3 separate regions of the Homo sapiens genome follow, and regions 1 and 2 are each linked to region 3. The links are contacts of gene promoters, found by promoter capture Hi-C in blood cells and fetal thymus (Javierre and others, 2016). All regions are on one chromosome and are shown on one strand. Each heading gives the region's core, a stretch centred on a gene start or on the middle of the fragment in contact. The rest is flanking DNA. Distances are from core to core; before and after follow the strand shown.

The links. Contacts are between HindIII fragments. The CHiCAGO score rates a contact against its expected background, and 5 or more counts as called.
Region 1: the fragment with the promoter of REPIN1 here is called in contact with the fragment with the promoter of ZNF783 in region 3 in 2 of 17 cell types (total B cells and erythroblasts); the score reaches 10.0 in total B cells.
Region 2: a fragment that was not itself captured here is called in contact with the fragment with the promoter of ZNF783 in region 3 in 1 of 17 cell types (naive CD8 T cells); the score reaches 5.6 in naive CD8 T cells.

Annotation. Positions count from the first base shown.
Region 1 is chr7:150,367,137-150,371,762 of GRCh38, forward strand. It overlaps REPIN1 (replication initiator 1), which reads left to right and starts at 1,686. Exons shown (of 3, transcript NM_001099695.2): 1 at 1,686-1,805; 2 at 2,535-2,732; 3 at 4,092-4,626. The coding sequence starts at 2,576. REPIN1-AS1 (REPIN1 antisense RNA 1) reads right to left here. Exons shown (of 4, transcript NR_183429.1): 2 at 3,942-4,019; 3 at 3,569-3,720. RefSeq lists enhancers at 1,160-1,219, 1,259-2,063, 2,064-2,869, 2,870-3,674 and silencers at 1,470-1,939, 2,450-2,599. The HindIII fragment of the contact is 10,402 bases long and covers 1-4,626 here.
Region 2 is chr7:151,088,009-151,092,423 of GRCh38, forward strand. The region is part of intron 1 of AGAP3 (ArfGAP with GTPase domain, ankyrin repeat and PH domain 3); the gene reads left to right. LOC124901778 (a long non-coding RNA gene) reads left to right here and starts at 995. Exons shown (of 2, transcript XR_007060595.1): 1 at 995-2,157. RefSeq lists enhancers at 1-22, 1,520-2,030, 2,031-2,540, 2,666-3,171, 3,172-3,677. The HindIII fragment of the contact is 2,822 bases long and covers 578-3,399 here.
Region 3 is chr7:149,259,644-149,263,749 of GRCh38, forward strand. It overlaps ZNF783 (zinc finger protein 783), which reads left to right and starts at 2,553. Exons shown (of 6, transcript NM_001195220.2): 1 at 2,553-2,714. The coding sequence starts at 2,691. It overlaps LOC124901769 (a long non-coding RNA gene), which reads right to left and starts at 2,698. Exons shown (of 2, transcript XR_007060582.1): 1 at 2,004-2,698. RefSeq lists a silencer at 2,151-3,020. The HindIII fragment of the contact is 3,928 bases long and covers 1,736-4,106 here.

The DNA.
Region 1 (4,626 bases), core at 436-2,935, 1.1 Mb after region 3:
TAATTAGCTGGATGTGGTGATGTGATCCTGTAGTCCCAGCTACTCAGAGGCCGAGGTGGGAGGATTGCTTGAGCTCAGGAAGTCCTGGCTTCAGTGAGCCATGATAGTGCTACTGCACTCCAGCTCTGGTGACAGAGTGAAACCCTGTCTCAAAAAAAAAAAAAAAAAAAGTTAACAAGTACGAGGAAACACGTCTGCAACAAACATGACAAGTCTTTAATACCTGTACTTTATGAGTGCCCCCCAAACAATAAACCAACTCCCCAACTTTTAAAATGGGCAAATAGAAAAGTGGGCAAATGGACATAAACAAATTCACAAGAGAAAATAAAACTGGCAAAAAATAACCATGTGAAAAAACAATCCAGCTAACTAGTACTCTAAGAAATGCAAGTACAAAAGATGAGAAATAACCATTTCAAACTAAATTTTTTTTTTAAAAAAGTCTGTGTTGTCAAGTATATGGAAAATGGGCATTTCTCAGGGAAAACTAATACGTTTTCCTGGAAGATAATTTAGAAAACATTTAAAAAATATATTCCTTTTATACAGCCATAAATAATCATGTTTAAAAGAATATCTAATAAAATGGAAGAAAATTCACAAGATCGTGTTAAGTGAAGAAGGCAGAATACATCTTCGCAAGGCATTATTCCAATTATGCCAGACATGCCATGGATATACGTAGAGAAAACACCGGAGGCAACATACCAAAATATTAAATGTAATTGACTCTACGAGGTAAAACTGAGTTTTATGTTCCCCTATTTCCTATTTATGCAATAGATTTAAAAAGTATTTTTACGACTAATTATACAATTCAAAAATTGCCTGTGTTGAAAAGCATGAAAGTACATGAAATTGTACTACCCTGGAAACCCCAGGAAGTGTTTAGTTTGGAAAGCCAGGGCCACCTGCTAGTGGGTGAGTCATGGGCACAGGCTCGCACCTGCCACCGCAGACGCCACACAGGCTGCTGAGCCTTTCCAAGCGAAATGCCCCACGTGCGCCAACGGCCACCTCGGCCGTCGCCCCACGCTTGGCCCGCAGCCAGAGGAAGCCCAGCAACTTCTGCTCTTTCTTAATTTCTAGAAAAGAGTGAAGAGAGGCCTTTTCAAAGTTCGCAGGATCGGGCCTTTTTGTGCTCCACTTTGGAACAAATCGGAAGCTAGGGCCTTCCAGGTGCGCCACCGCCGTCCCGGGACCGCCGCGGCCGCAAGCGTCCGCACTGCGGCCGGGGTGCGCGGCCTGAGAAAGGCCCGGGCAACGACGCTCCGGGGGCTTGCCGGAGCCCTCTTTGAAGTCTCCCGACGGGCTCCCAGCCTCTCATAAGGCAGCTAAGGCCGAACACCCCGGTGACCATAGGCCAGCCACGCGGTCGCCCGGGGACGCGCGTGCTCCGCAGGGACAAAGGGTCGGGAAACTTGAGCTCCGGCCAGTCCCAGAGAAACCCGGGCTGGTGGTCGCCATGGCAACGGAGTCCGACCCTCCGAGGCCTGCCGCCCTGGCGCGGCAGTGGCTTGAGTGACCCGGCCCGCTCTTGGCGGGGGCGCCCGCGCCCCGGCCCCGGCAGTCCCTCCCCGCCCCCAGGCCGCGGCCGCGGGAGCCGGCGACTGACCCTCGGCAGCTCCTGTAGTCACGTGGCGCTGGGAACCCGGCGGGGGGAGGTTGGGGACGGGCCTGGCAGTTGTGAACTCGAACCTGCCGCTGTCGCCGCGGCGGGGCGGGGAGCGAGAGTGGGCCGCGGAGGCCGGCCTTCGGGCTCCATGGACGGGCGCCGCGTCCCTGCACAGCCCGCCGCAGAGGTACGGCCGGGGCAGGGGCGCGGGGCCACCGCGGGCCCGCGGGGGGCCGCTCCACCTGCGGGGCGCGTGACCGTGAGTGTGCGCGACCGTGTGTGAGTGCGCGGGGGGGGACGCTGCTGGATCTGCGGGGGTGGGGGAGCGCACCTGCGCACAGGCTCCGCGAGCTGCGCCGTGCGTGGGACCCGAAATGGCTCACTCGCAAGAACGGGACCCGTGTGCCCGGGAGCGTGGACGGAGGACACGCATCAGTACAAAAGGGCGGTGTGGGGCTTCTGCCACCCGCGGCCAGCCGCGATGCGGAAGGGGATTCTGACGGAGTCGTGGTCACACCAGCTGGCCCTGCGCAGCCCCATGGGAAATAGGCCTGGAATTCCTGTCGGGAGGAGGCTGGGGGAAGGGGAGCCAGCAGGGATTCCAGAGTTCCTGCCATAGGCCGGCCTTTGGCCATCAGGGAAAGCCCAGACTCTGGCCACAGAATGGAGAATTCGTTCCGTGACCTTACCAGGGAAGAAAGTGACCCCGAAAGACAGCAGTGTGCTTCCTTGTTGAAGGGGCACATTCATTTATTAATCCAATGTCCATTAAGGTCACTCTGCCAGGCAGGATGTGGGGCTTATGGCTGGTGCGTGTGGCTTTGTGGGGGGAGGGGTTGTGGCTGGTGAGGACACAAAGCTGACTGCCCTAGAGGAGCTCAGAGCCTCACTTCTGTTTTCTCTTCCCTCCCCACAGGTAAGGCTGGCCTCTCTGCAGTCAGAGGTCTGAGCTCTGCCATGGGGATAGGGGTGTCTTTATTACTGCAGTTTTCTCTAACACCTGGGGGCTACCGGAGTGTGGGCCGAAGCAGGCGCTGCAGCCGCGGAAGTATCCCCAGGAACATCCCCAAGAGGAGCTGGAAAAAGCCTCATCCCCAGCTCTGCAGTCTCCAGGGTAGAGTCTGGCCTTTGCTGTGCTCCCAAACCACGCCACAACAGGGGTGCACGGGCGTCCCCATCCCGGCGGAAGGAAATGGCCCTTTCTCATATCCTGGGGTCTTCCCTGTGCACAGTCTGACACTGGGAATGAGTGACCTTTGTGTTCCCTGAGAAGAGAGAGTGCGCTCTAGGGAATTTAGAAGGATGTGTCTGGAGCTTGTGAGCAGGCACAGAAGGGCCCTTAGGAGCCTAACTGCTTCCTTCCTCCTTCCGCGGAGGAGGCTCCTGTGCAGGAATCTGGGCTCCCCTGAGCTGTGGAAGAGCTGAACATGGGGCAGCCCCTGGCGAGGTTGGGGCAGGACCGGGCAGGGGACTGAGATTGCAGTCTCATCTTCCCTCCCCTTCTATTGCCCCAGTAATCTCCAGCACCCCGAGGGAGGCAGAGCCGGTGATCAGGCCCCGAGGGCAGCAGGCTGTGGGTGTTCCTTGGATTCAGGGAGAGCCTTCCTTCCTGCAATGTCCTAATTTGTGTGGGTGGAAGAGGGCAGGCGGGCAGAATGGGGGCACAGTCTGGGCAGGCGGTGGTCTGGCGTTAGACTGCCGGGAGTAGCACCCAGGGCTCTGCTCCTGTTCCCCGAGAAGGGCTGTTCTCACTTGTCCTCCAGCCTCCTACGGAGACTGCAGTTAGTGATGCTGAAAGTGCCTCCCCTGTGGGGCTAGGAATGAAAAGCTATAGACACCTTTTTCTCTGAGATCTTTGCAAACCCAGGCGCTTTAGAGGAAAGAACACTGGCCTGGGAGTTTAAAGACCTGTTCCCTAGTCTTGATTCTGCTGTTGGCTTACTGTGTCACCTTGGGCAGGTCTCGTCATCTTTGATGTCTCACAGTTGCTTCATCTGTTAAACAGGGAGCTCAGTGTCTGTTTGTCCAGCTTCTCAGAGTTGCTGTGCAGCTCGGATGTGGCATAGGAAACAGCAGACACAGGGAGAGGGCAGCATAAGGCACTGTAGGGAGCAGTGGCCACATTTTCTGGTGAGTCCTGTGGCAGGAATGTTTGTGCATTCAGCACTGGAGCATTTACTCCCTGTCTGACACTGGGGTAGCTGCCATGAGGGGGATTCTAGTATCAGAGTCCCTCCCTTCTGGAAGTTTCCAGGGCAACAAAGACATAAGACAAACATCCTTGAAATGTTATCTAAAAACCCAAGATTGAAATAATACATACCACACAAGGAAACAGGAGAGTAGTCTAGCTCCATGTCCGGGGCTCTAGGGGTTCATAGATGGCAGCTCCTGTCCGGGGCTGAGGTTGGGAGGGGAGAAACAGGGGCAGAGTGAGTTGGTCTCTGGAGTGACTGTGCTTTTCCACCCTCAGCAGAGGAAGAACCGATGCTGGAACGTCGTTGCAGGGGCCCCCTGGCCATGGGCCTGGCCCAGCCCCGACTCCTTTCTGGGCCCTCCCAGGAGTCACCCCAGACCCTGGGGAAGGAGTCCCGCGGGCTGAGGCAACAAGGCACGTCAGTGGCCCAGTCTGGTGCCCAAGCCCCAGGCAGGGCCCATCGCTGTGCCCACTGTCGAAGGCACTTCCCTGGCTGGGTGGCTCTGTGGCTTCACACCCGCCGGTGCCAGGCCCGGCTGCCCTTGCCCTGCCCTGAGTGTGGCCGTCGCTTTCGCCATGCCCCCTTCTTAGCACTGCACCGCCAGGTCCATGCTGCTGCCACCCCAGACCTGGGCTTTGCCTGCCACCTCTGTGGGCAGAGCTTCCGAGGCTGGGTGGCCCTGGTTCTGCATCTGCGGGCCCATTCAGCTGCAAAGCGGCCCATCGCTTGTCCCAAATGCGAGAGACGCTTCTGGCGACGAAAGCAGCTTCGAGCTCATCTGCGGCGGTGCCACCCTCCCGCCCCGGAGGC
Region 2 (4,415 bases), core at 739-3,238, 1.8 Mb after region 3:
GGGACGCCCACCGGCAGGTGGTGGGTTTGGCCTCAGTGGAAATGCAGTGAGAGCCAAGGCCTTTTGCGATAACATGGAGTTATGGGCAGGGGCCTGTCCCTGACTTGGGCCTTAAGGTTAGGGCCCCACTCCCAGCTTCATCTGCTTGCCTGAGGTTCTGGGGGATAGTGCACCTGAACACCTCCCTTTCTGCTTTCAGAGGTCCCCATAGCCGGGGAAGAAGTACTGGGTCTGGGGGGACCCCATGTGGTGCTGGGTTCTATCTTTTGTTGTGACATGCCAGTCTGACTTCCTTCTGCCTTTTCCCAACCCGTTCTTATTTCTTTCCTCTCAAGGCTGAGTTCTCTGTGAACTAATTAGGTGACAGAAAAAACTCATTAACGTGGATCTGAGTAAATGGCCTGAATCACCGCTGTGGCTGGGGACTAGGAGATGGCATTTGTGCGAGCCCTGGGCCCCAAAGACAGGAGATGACCAATTTTTCCTCTTAGATCTGAAGAGGGTGGAGGCGGGAGAGACATCGTTGCTGCAGCTTCACTGTCCTTGGAGGAAGTAAAGACATTCCTGATTTGCTCCAAGCTTACCTTCCCCCAGCTCCTTCTGGAGGGCGACAAGCCTCGTGGGCCGGCCACAGGAGGGTGGGGGCACATCTGCTTCCGAGCTTTTCCCAGAGCAGGGAGAGGTTTCCGGGCTCCCCTGGCTCCAGCTTGATGAGCAGCGACCCCTCCTCCCCAGCTCAGGGGAGCCTCTGGTTGAGCATCTTTTGTGATGTGAAGGCTGATTCCTGGGGCGCCCTTGAGTTTTTTTTGCCTGATCTTAAATTTAACACAACAGGCAGAATTTCCCCTCCTAGAGCCCTCCCCTGACCGACTTCTCCATTGCGGTTTGGAAATACCCCATGGTTCCGTCTACTAGGCCTGGAAGCTCGGCCTCACCCTCGTGAAATCCCGGGAGCCGGTGTCTCACTGTCACCAGACCGACCCAGCCGCGGCTCACACATCCGTTCTCAGCCCTGCTGTTCCCACTCCTGGGCCCTGCTGCCCTGCTGCCCTGCTGTCCCTCCCTCCCCCCTGCCCAGCCTCTCCTGGCACCGTCATCTTTATCCACCTCACCCGTCTTGCGTTCCCACTTTTCTGCTGTAGGCAGTCTTCAAAAGAAAAAAAAAACCACTCCTTCTCCAGTTTCTGCCCTATATCCTTCCTGCGATAGAACTCCTCTCCATCTGCCAAACCATATTGCTTCTGTCCTGCGAAGCGGTGTCCCCACCTTCTTTCTGCGAGGAGGGAGAGGCGCAGACTCCCTGGGCGTTTCCGAGCACAGTCTGAGGCTGGACTGAGACCCAGCCCTCCACCCCCAGCCCCAGGGCGGAACAGACCTAGGCTGTTACATAAACACAGTGTCAGCTGGGAGCCGGGTCCTGTGTTTCCTGGGGCTAAGCCTCTCGGTGGAAAGGGGCGGCAGTTCCGAGTGTATAACAAAGCCTCCCTCACTCTGTTTAGACTTCGGTGAAGGGTTTGTTTGTCCCAGCTCTGAAGGTGACGTGGGACCTGCGGTCAGGATCCATCTGGCTCTGAGGAAGTGCAGTGGGCACTTGGGCCTCCTGTAGTCTCTGCCACTCACAGTCACTTCTGACCCCGTGTCCAGGACAGGAGGAAGCAGGGGATGTTTGGCTTTCCTGTGTTTCAGGACAGGATTTGAGGAGAGGGAGACCATTTTGAAAAGTTCCTTTCCCACCAGAGGCCAAGGAAAGAGAAAACCTGCCCATTACTTGGCCTTAGGGAGTGGAAGAAGTACAGCCTTCAGCTGGGAGGGAGAGCTGGAGGGCTCACTATGTGCAGAGCCTCTGAGCCACCTTCACCTCACTAGTGGGGAAACTGAGGCTCAGAGAAGGGAGGGAGCCAAGCGGATACAGCCAGGGAGAGTATAGGCCTTCAACAGGAGCCCGCTTCCGGCTTGGCACTCACCTGCAGTGAGCGCTCCCTGACAGCTTGGGTTTCCTGGCTGAGTCCTAGAAAGAGGGATGCAGGAGAACGAGGGCCTCAGTCCAAATGGGGACACTGGGCACGTGGAGCGCAGGATGTTGTACCAAGCTAGCCAGGAGCCCCAAAGGAGCCCGGGATCTTTCCAGGACCTGCTGGTCCCAGTCGTTGTGTGCAGGTGAGGGCCCGGCACAGGGGAGGAGCAGGGGCTTGGGGAGGGCCTGGGATCCCTGCTGGCAGTTCCCAGATGGGGGGGGGGGGCTCCCGCCTGGAAGTGGAAGTGGACCTGACTATTAGGTGTGTGTGCCATATGGCTACTATTATGTGTGCCGGAGCTGGGCTTTGTCAGCTGGGTGACTTACTCAGGTTTCTCCATCGTTTTCCCACTAGGGCTTTTTTTTTTTTTTTTTTTTTTTTTAAACAGTTACTTCGAGCATTCCAGCCGGCCTGGCCTGGCCAGCAGAGCGTTCTCACTGTCACCCTTACCCCACTCACTTTCATTCAGTTCACAGATTGCCTGCCCTGGGCTGTGGGCTTGGTGACATCCTAAAGGGACTAAGGTAAAGAGATGTGGGGGTTTCTTGTTTGGGTCAAGCCTCAGCTAGACAGAGAAGGGGCCACAGCTGTGACTGCAGTTGGGTGGCAGCTCAGAGGGAGAGTAAGACGGTGCATGTGGCCGGGTACAGTGGCTCACGCCTGTAATCCCAACATTTTGGGAGACCAAGGCGGGCGGATCACGAGGTCAGGAGATCGAGACCATCCTGGTTAACATGGTGAAACCCCCGTCTCTACTAAAAATACGAAAAATTAGCCGGGCGTGGTGGCGGGCACCTGTAGTCCCAGCTACTCGGGAGGCTGAGGCAGGAGAATGGTGTGAATCTGGGAGGCAGAGCTTGCAGTGAGCTGAGATCGCACCACTGCACTCCAGCCTGGGCAACAGAGCAAGACTCCGTCTCAAAAAAAAACAAAAACAAAACAAAACAAAACGGCATACGCCCTGGCATCCCACAGCCCTCAGCCCTTAGGCACACCTGGGGTTTTAGTGTTTGTGTCTGTTTCTGTTCGTCCTGTGACTTGATCCTGGAGGACTGGCATGATGGTCCCCATGTTTGTGCCAGGGTGCTCTCTTGAGCTTTCCTTACTGTTCCTGGGTGGGCACTCCCTGGCCGGGCCCTGCATTCCGCCGTGGGCCCTGCTGCACCACACACTGCTGAGGTTCCCTTCAAAGATGAGGACTGGGGGGGTCTGGGATGGGTGCCGGGGACATGCATCTGGAGCCAGCCCAGGCCCCTCTGGCAATTCGTTGGTTTAGGGACTGAGTGTCTCATGGGGGCCTGGTTGCTTATGCAGGACTTTGCTCGCAAGAGTTCTAGCAATTCTGAAAAAGAGCATAACCATGTGGGTGCTAGTAGCCAGGGAAAGCTTCATTTGTTCCAGATACATTCATTTAGCTCCTACTGTGCGGCCCAGTTGCATCTAGCACAGTGAAAAGCAGACAATCAAAGGAGAGACAGGGAGCGAAGGGGCCAGAAGGTCTGGGCTTGGTGCACCTGGAGAGAACGACTCAGCCTGTAGGAGGTGCCAGAGAGGCACTGGGAGTCCAGAAGGAGACCTAGATTTTCAGAAGACCAGGGCAGGGCAAAGGTCAGAGACTTGGGAAACCTCATCACGACTTCTTTCTTCCGGGTCAGAAGCCAGAACAGGAAGACCTGTCCAGCCTGATCTCAGGCTGCATGGCCTCGTGGGAACCCCTGGTACCCTGCTCCATCCAGGGTCTCAGCTCTGGCTCTCCCCAGCAGTGGTACCCCACAGATGAAGCAGTCCTTGTCCCTATGATGCCACCTGGCAATCTTCCTGTATCATTTATTTCTTTCCTCAAACGTGTGCCAGGCCTGGGGGTCCGGAGGATTCCCACATAGAGGAAACAGGATGATGAAGATAACGGAGGCAGGAGAACATAGTGTGGCTCTCGGAACGGCAAGTTGGACTCTGCAGCTCGGGTGTTGAGTTGTAGGAGATGGGTGGGTGAGGTGGGCAGGACCCTGGTGAAGGAGTATTTCATGCTTTCTCCAGTATTTATTTCCACCCTGCCGTGTTCCTAGAAACCGCAGGAGTTGGTGCGTCATTCTGCGAAAGATGGGCGTCACAAGCGTTTAAGCCTTTGAGAAGGCTTGAGCCACGCCAGCATCCACACCGCTCGTTTGTGCTTGTGAGCCCCCTACCAGCTGTCAGTGCGTCCCTGGCCCAGAAGTGGAGGGAACGAGGTACGCTTCTTGGAAAGCAGGTGTAGCCTGGGAGAGCCAAGGCTGGGGGGAGACAGACACCCCCGTAAGAACTCCCATGTCCGTGTGTGGCATTGCCTAAACATCCACCTGTTGTGTTAGTTTCTTTTTAATATGCAGGTAACTGGAAATTAGTTTAATCTGATGCTTTCCT
Region 3 (4,106 bases), core at 1,303-3,802:
ACCTTCTGCAGGTGGAGTCACCCTTGTTACTCCACGGACTGGGCCTCCACTGGATGTTGTCAGTTCACCCAGAGATAATCAGGTCCTGGAAATCTGATCCCCCAAAAAACAAACTCACAAGAGACAGATTAACAATTAAAGATGAATGTAGGCTGAGCGTGGTGGCTGATGCCTGTAATCCCGGCACTTTTGGAGGCCGAGGTGGGTGGATCTCCTGAGGTCAGGAGTTTGAGACCAGCCTGGCCAACATGGTGAAACCCCGTCTCTACTAAAAATACTAAAAATTAGCCTGGCATGGTGGCAGGAACCTGTAATCCCAGCTACTCGGGAGGCTGAGGCAGGAGAATCTCTTGAACCTGGGAGGTGGAGGTTGCAGTGAGCCGAGATCGTGCCATTGCACTTCATCTTGGGCAACAAGAGCGAAACTCCGTCTTAAAAAAAAAAAGCCACCATGTAATTTTAATTTATATCAGAGCTGGCTTGACACCCCGGCTGGTCTGCTCAGAAACCACATTATGGTGCAAAGTGTTCGTTTATTAAATATATTTATAAAATCTGAGCATGGGAATGGGAGGTAGCTGTGGGACCCTGATAAACAGTGCCAAGGTTTTCGAACTGTGATCACCAGACCAATAGAATCAGCATTTCTTGGGAACTAGTTAGAATTGCAAATTCGCATCACTTTCATCCCCTCCTGTTTCAGACCTAGAAATGTTGAGGTTTGTGCCTAGCATCCTGTATTTTTAACAAGAACCCTCAGTGAACATGATGCACACTGAAGTTTGAGTACCACTGACTTAGAGAAACTTTTTTTCTAAAAAACGAAGACTAGCTGTCAAACATTATAGCACTCTTTCCTCAACAGAGCTCATTAAATCCTAGCATTTTTGTCTCCAGCCCATTTTCCTGACCCTTTCTTTCTTTCTTTTTCTTTTTTTTTTTTTTTGAGATGGGGTTTTGCTCTTGTTGCCCAGGCTGGAGTGCAATGGCATGATCTCGGCTTACTGCAACCTCTGCTTCCCGGGTTCAAGCGATTATCCTGCCTCAGCCTCCAGAGTACCTCACCACCACACCCAGCTAATTTTTTGTATTAGTAGAGATGGGGTTTCATCATGTTGGCCAGGCTGGTCTCGAACTCCTGACCTCAGGTGATCCATCCGCCTCAGCCTCCCAAACTGCTGGGATTACAGGCATGAGCCACGGCTCCTGGCCCATTTTCCTGACCCTTTCTGTTTGCATTGGACCTTAACTGTTATTCTATAACGTCACCATTTACTGGTATTTTATAATCCTGAATAGATTGGACTGATCCCTGATAAGATCCTAGGGATGCTCTTAATGTCTTTAGTGCATACTTGCAGTTTGTGTTTTAGATTGGGATAGTTCAACAAGAATTTCCAAAATGAATAATGCCAAATATTTATTTGATTTGTTACCTTAAAGTAACACGTCCTAACCTTTCCGCAAATTTTGGGGTTCACCTTACTTAGGATATCAGTTTGTGTTTTTTCTGATAGTTGACCACGCTTTTGCTTGGCTCAAATATTTGTGAAAATAACTTCTCACCCTCACCCCCCCCCCCCAAAAAAGAAAAAACAAAACCAAAACCAAAAAACCCCAAACAAACCCAAACACAGAAAGAAACAAAACTGCAGATTTCTAGCGGGAAGAGTTTGCCAGCTTGTTGGACAAAGACTGTGAGATGAATGGGAAATGCAGAAAAGACAGAAAACAAAGCTTCAACTGCATACAGCACATTTAGTTCAATATGCCTCAGCACAGGCCGAGGAAAATGGGTCCTGCGGTTTATTCAAGATGCCTCAGGGCCTAAATGAGGGATGGACTGATTCACACTTGCTGTGATCTCAGCCTGGACCAAAGCTACAGAAGGGTCCTCGTGGGTGGCTGAGGACTTTCACCAGGCGGGCCCCGGGAGGAGGAAGGGACCCCAGAGTCCTCAGGAGGGGAGGGCAGGCTTAGGAAAAAAAAAAAAAAAATCCTACCATCTTCACGTTTGTTCTGTCAAATTTAAAAGAGACTTTAAAAACGTTCATGTAAGTTTCCCTGGCTTCTCCCTGGGTACACACGTATCCTTTTTACTTTCCCCAACTCAGTTCTGTGGTGCGTGGGAGGCGCTGCAACAGAGTCTCGGTCCGGACTGGAGCCCCGGCGAGGGCCGACCCCGTTCCCCACGCAGCTTTCCCTCGCGAGGTTTCGCACTTTCCAGCGCGGTTCCTTCCCGCAGCCCTCCCGGCTCCCGCGTGGGACGCAGAGAGAGGTTGGGCGCCGCGCTGGCCCGGGAGTGGCTTACGCCTGACGTAGCCCCGCTGGAGGCCGTGGCACGCCCGCCCTGGCGTCAACTCCCGCGCCCCGGGTGAGGGTGGGTGGCCGCGCCTGGGTCCCGGACGCCGCGGGCGCTGAAGGCCTCGGGAGGGCGCGGGGCGGCGGCCGCGGGCGTGCGGTCCTACGGGCTGCAGGGGGCGCTGTGCGCGTCCTCAAGCTCGGCCGCCGAGCGCAGCTCTTTTTTAAAGGGCCAGCGGGGCACGTGGCTCGGGACGCAGTTCGCTGCCGCCCGGCAGTAGCTCTCAGGTTAGGCGGGTCCCGCTCCGCTTCCGCCGTCGCTGCCGCGCCGCCCCGGGCCCGACAGGCCGGGTCCAGGGACTGCAACCCAGCGAGGGACGCGGGCAGCCATGGCCGAAGCGGCGCCTGCCCGGGTAAGCGCCCTCGGCCCCGCGGACGCCCGGAAGGCCCAGGCCGCCGCCGCGTGAGCCCGCGCGAGGGACTCTGGCCGCGCGAGGCCGCGGGGTGAGAGGGCCTTGCGCGCAGCCTCCGCGCTCGTTGCCCCCGGCCCATCGCCCAGCCCGCGTCGAAGGCATTGACCGGGCGGCCCAAATGCCAGGCCCGGCGGGCGGGGCCCCGACGTCAGCGGCTGACGATCCGGCCCATCTGCGGCCTCAGCCAGGCCGGGCCCCAGAGTCACGCTCGGCGACGAGGAGGCCGCGCCTTAGGAGTATTGTCCCATTTGAGGCCTCGCGGCCCCCCCTACAGCAGGCTGGGCGGGCAGGGGCCGCCAGCCCCACGGGACAGTAGCGGAGGCTGAGATGGGAAGGGACAGGCCCAGGGTCACGCATCTATTAGAGGCGGGAGCCTCACGCCGGGGCAGGGATTTTGGAATTAGACACTTTAAAACGCCTCATATTCTACTTTTGCCAAAGAGAAAGATTGTGTCGTTTACAAGAGAGATAGTAGATTTTTTTAAAAAAGATTACTGTAGCAGATTTTATTTAATTTTTTTTTTTGAGAGGGAGTCTCGCTCTGTTGCGCATGCTGGATGGAGTGCAGTGGCACGATCTCGGCTCACTGCAAGCTCCGCCTCCCGGCTTCAAGGGATTCTCCTGCCTCAGCCTCCCAAGTAGCTGGGACTACAGGCGCCTGCTACCACGCCTGGCTAATTTTTCTATTTTTGGTAGAGACTGGGTTTCACTATGTTGGCCAGGCTGGTCTCGAACCCCTGACCTCGTGATCTGCCCGCCCCGGCCTCCCAAAGTGCTGGGATTACAGACGAGAGCTACCGCGCCCGGCCATTTTAAAATTTTTTAATTAAAAAAGTATATATATATACGTGTGTGTGTGTGTGTGTGTGTGTGTGTGTGTGTGTGTGTATATATATATATATATATATTTTTTTTTTAGACACAGTCTCACTCTCACCCAGGGTGGAGTGTAGTGGCGGGATCTCATCTCACTGCAACCTCTGCCTCTGCCTCCCGGGTTCAAGGTATTCTCCTGCCTCAGCCTCCCAATCCCAAGTAGCTGGGATTACAGGCGCAGGTGCCTGTCTCATTTATATCTATCTATCTATCTGTCCAGATACATATCTATATGAATAAGTTTATTCATAAGAATACACTATAAGTATTCCTATACAGAATTTTTCTCCTGGAGAAGGAAGAATCACATCAGTTTTTTTGGCATCTTCATCTATATAAGTTAGGCCAGTTTAGCAGATTTTAGAATCTTGGTTTGATATAGTGCAGTATGTCCAATTGGGAGATTATAATCCTTTGGCCATTTTTGACATACTGGAAAACGCTTGTAAAGGCTCA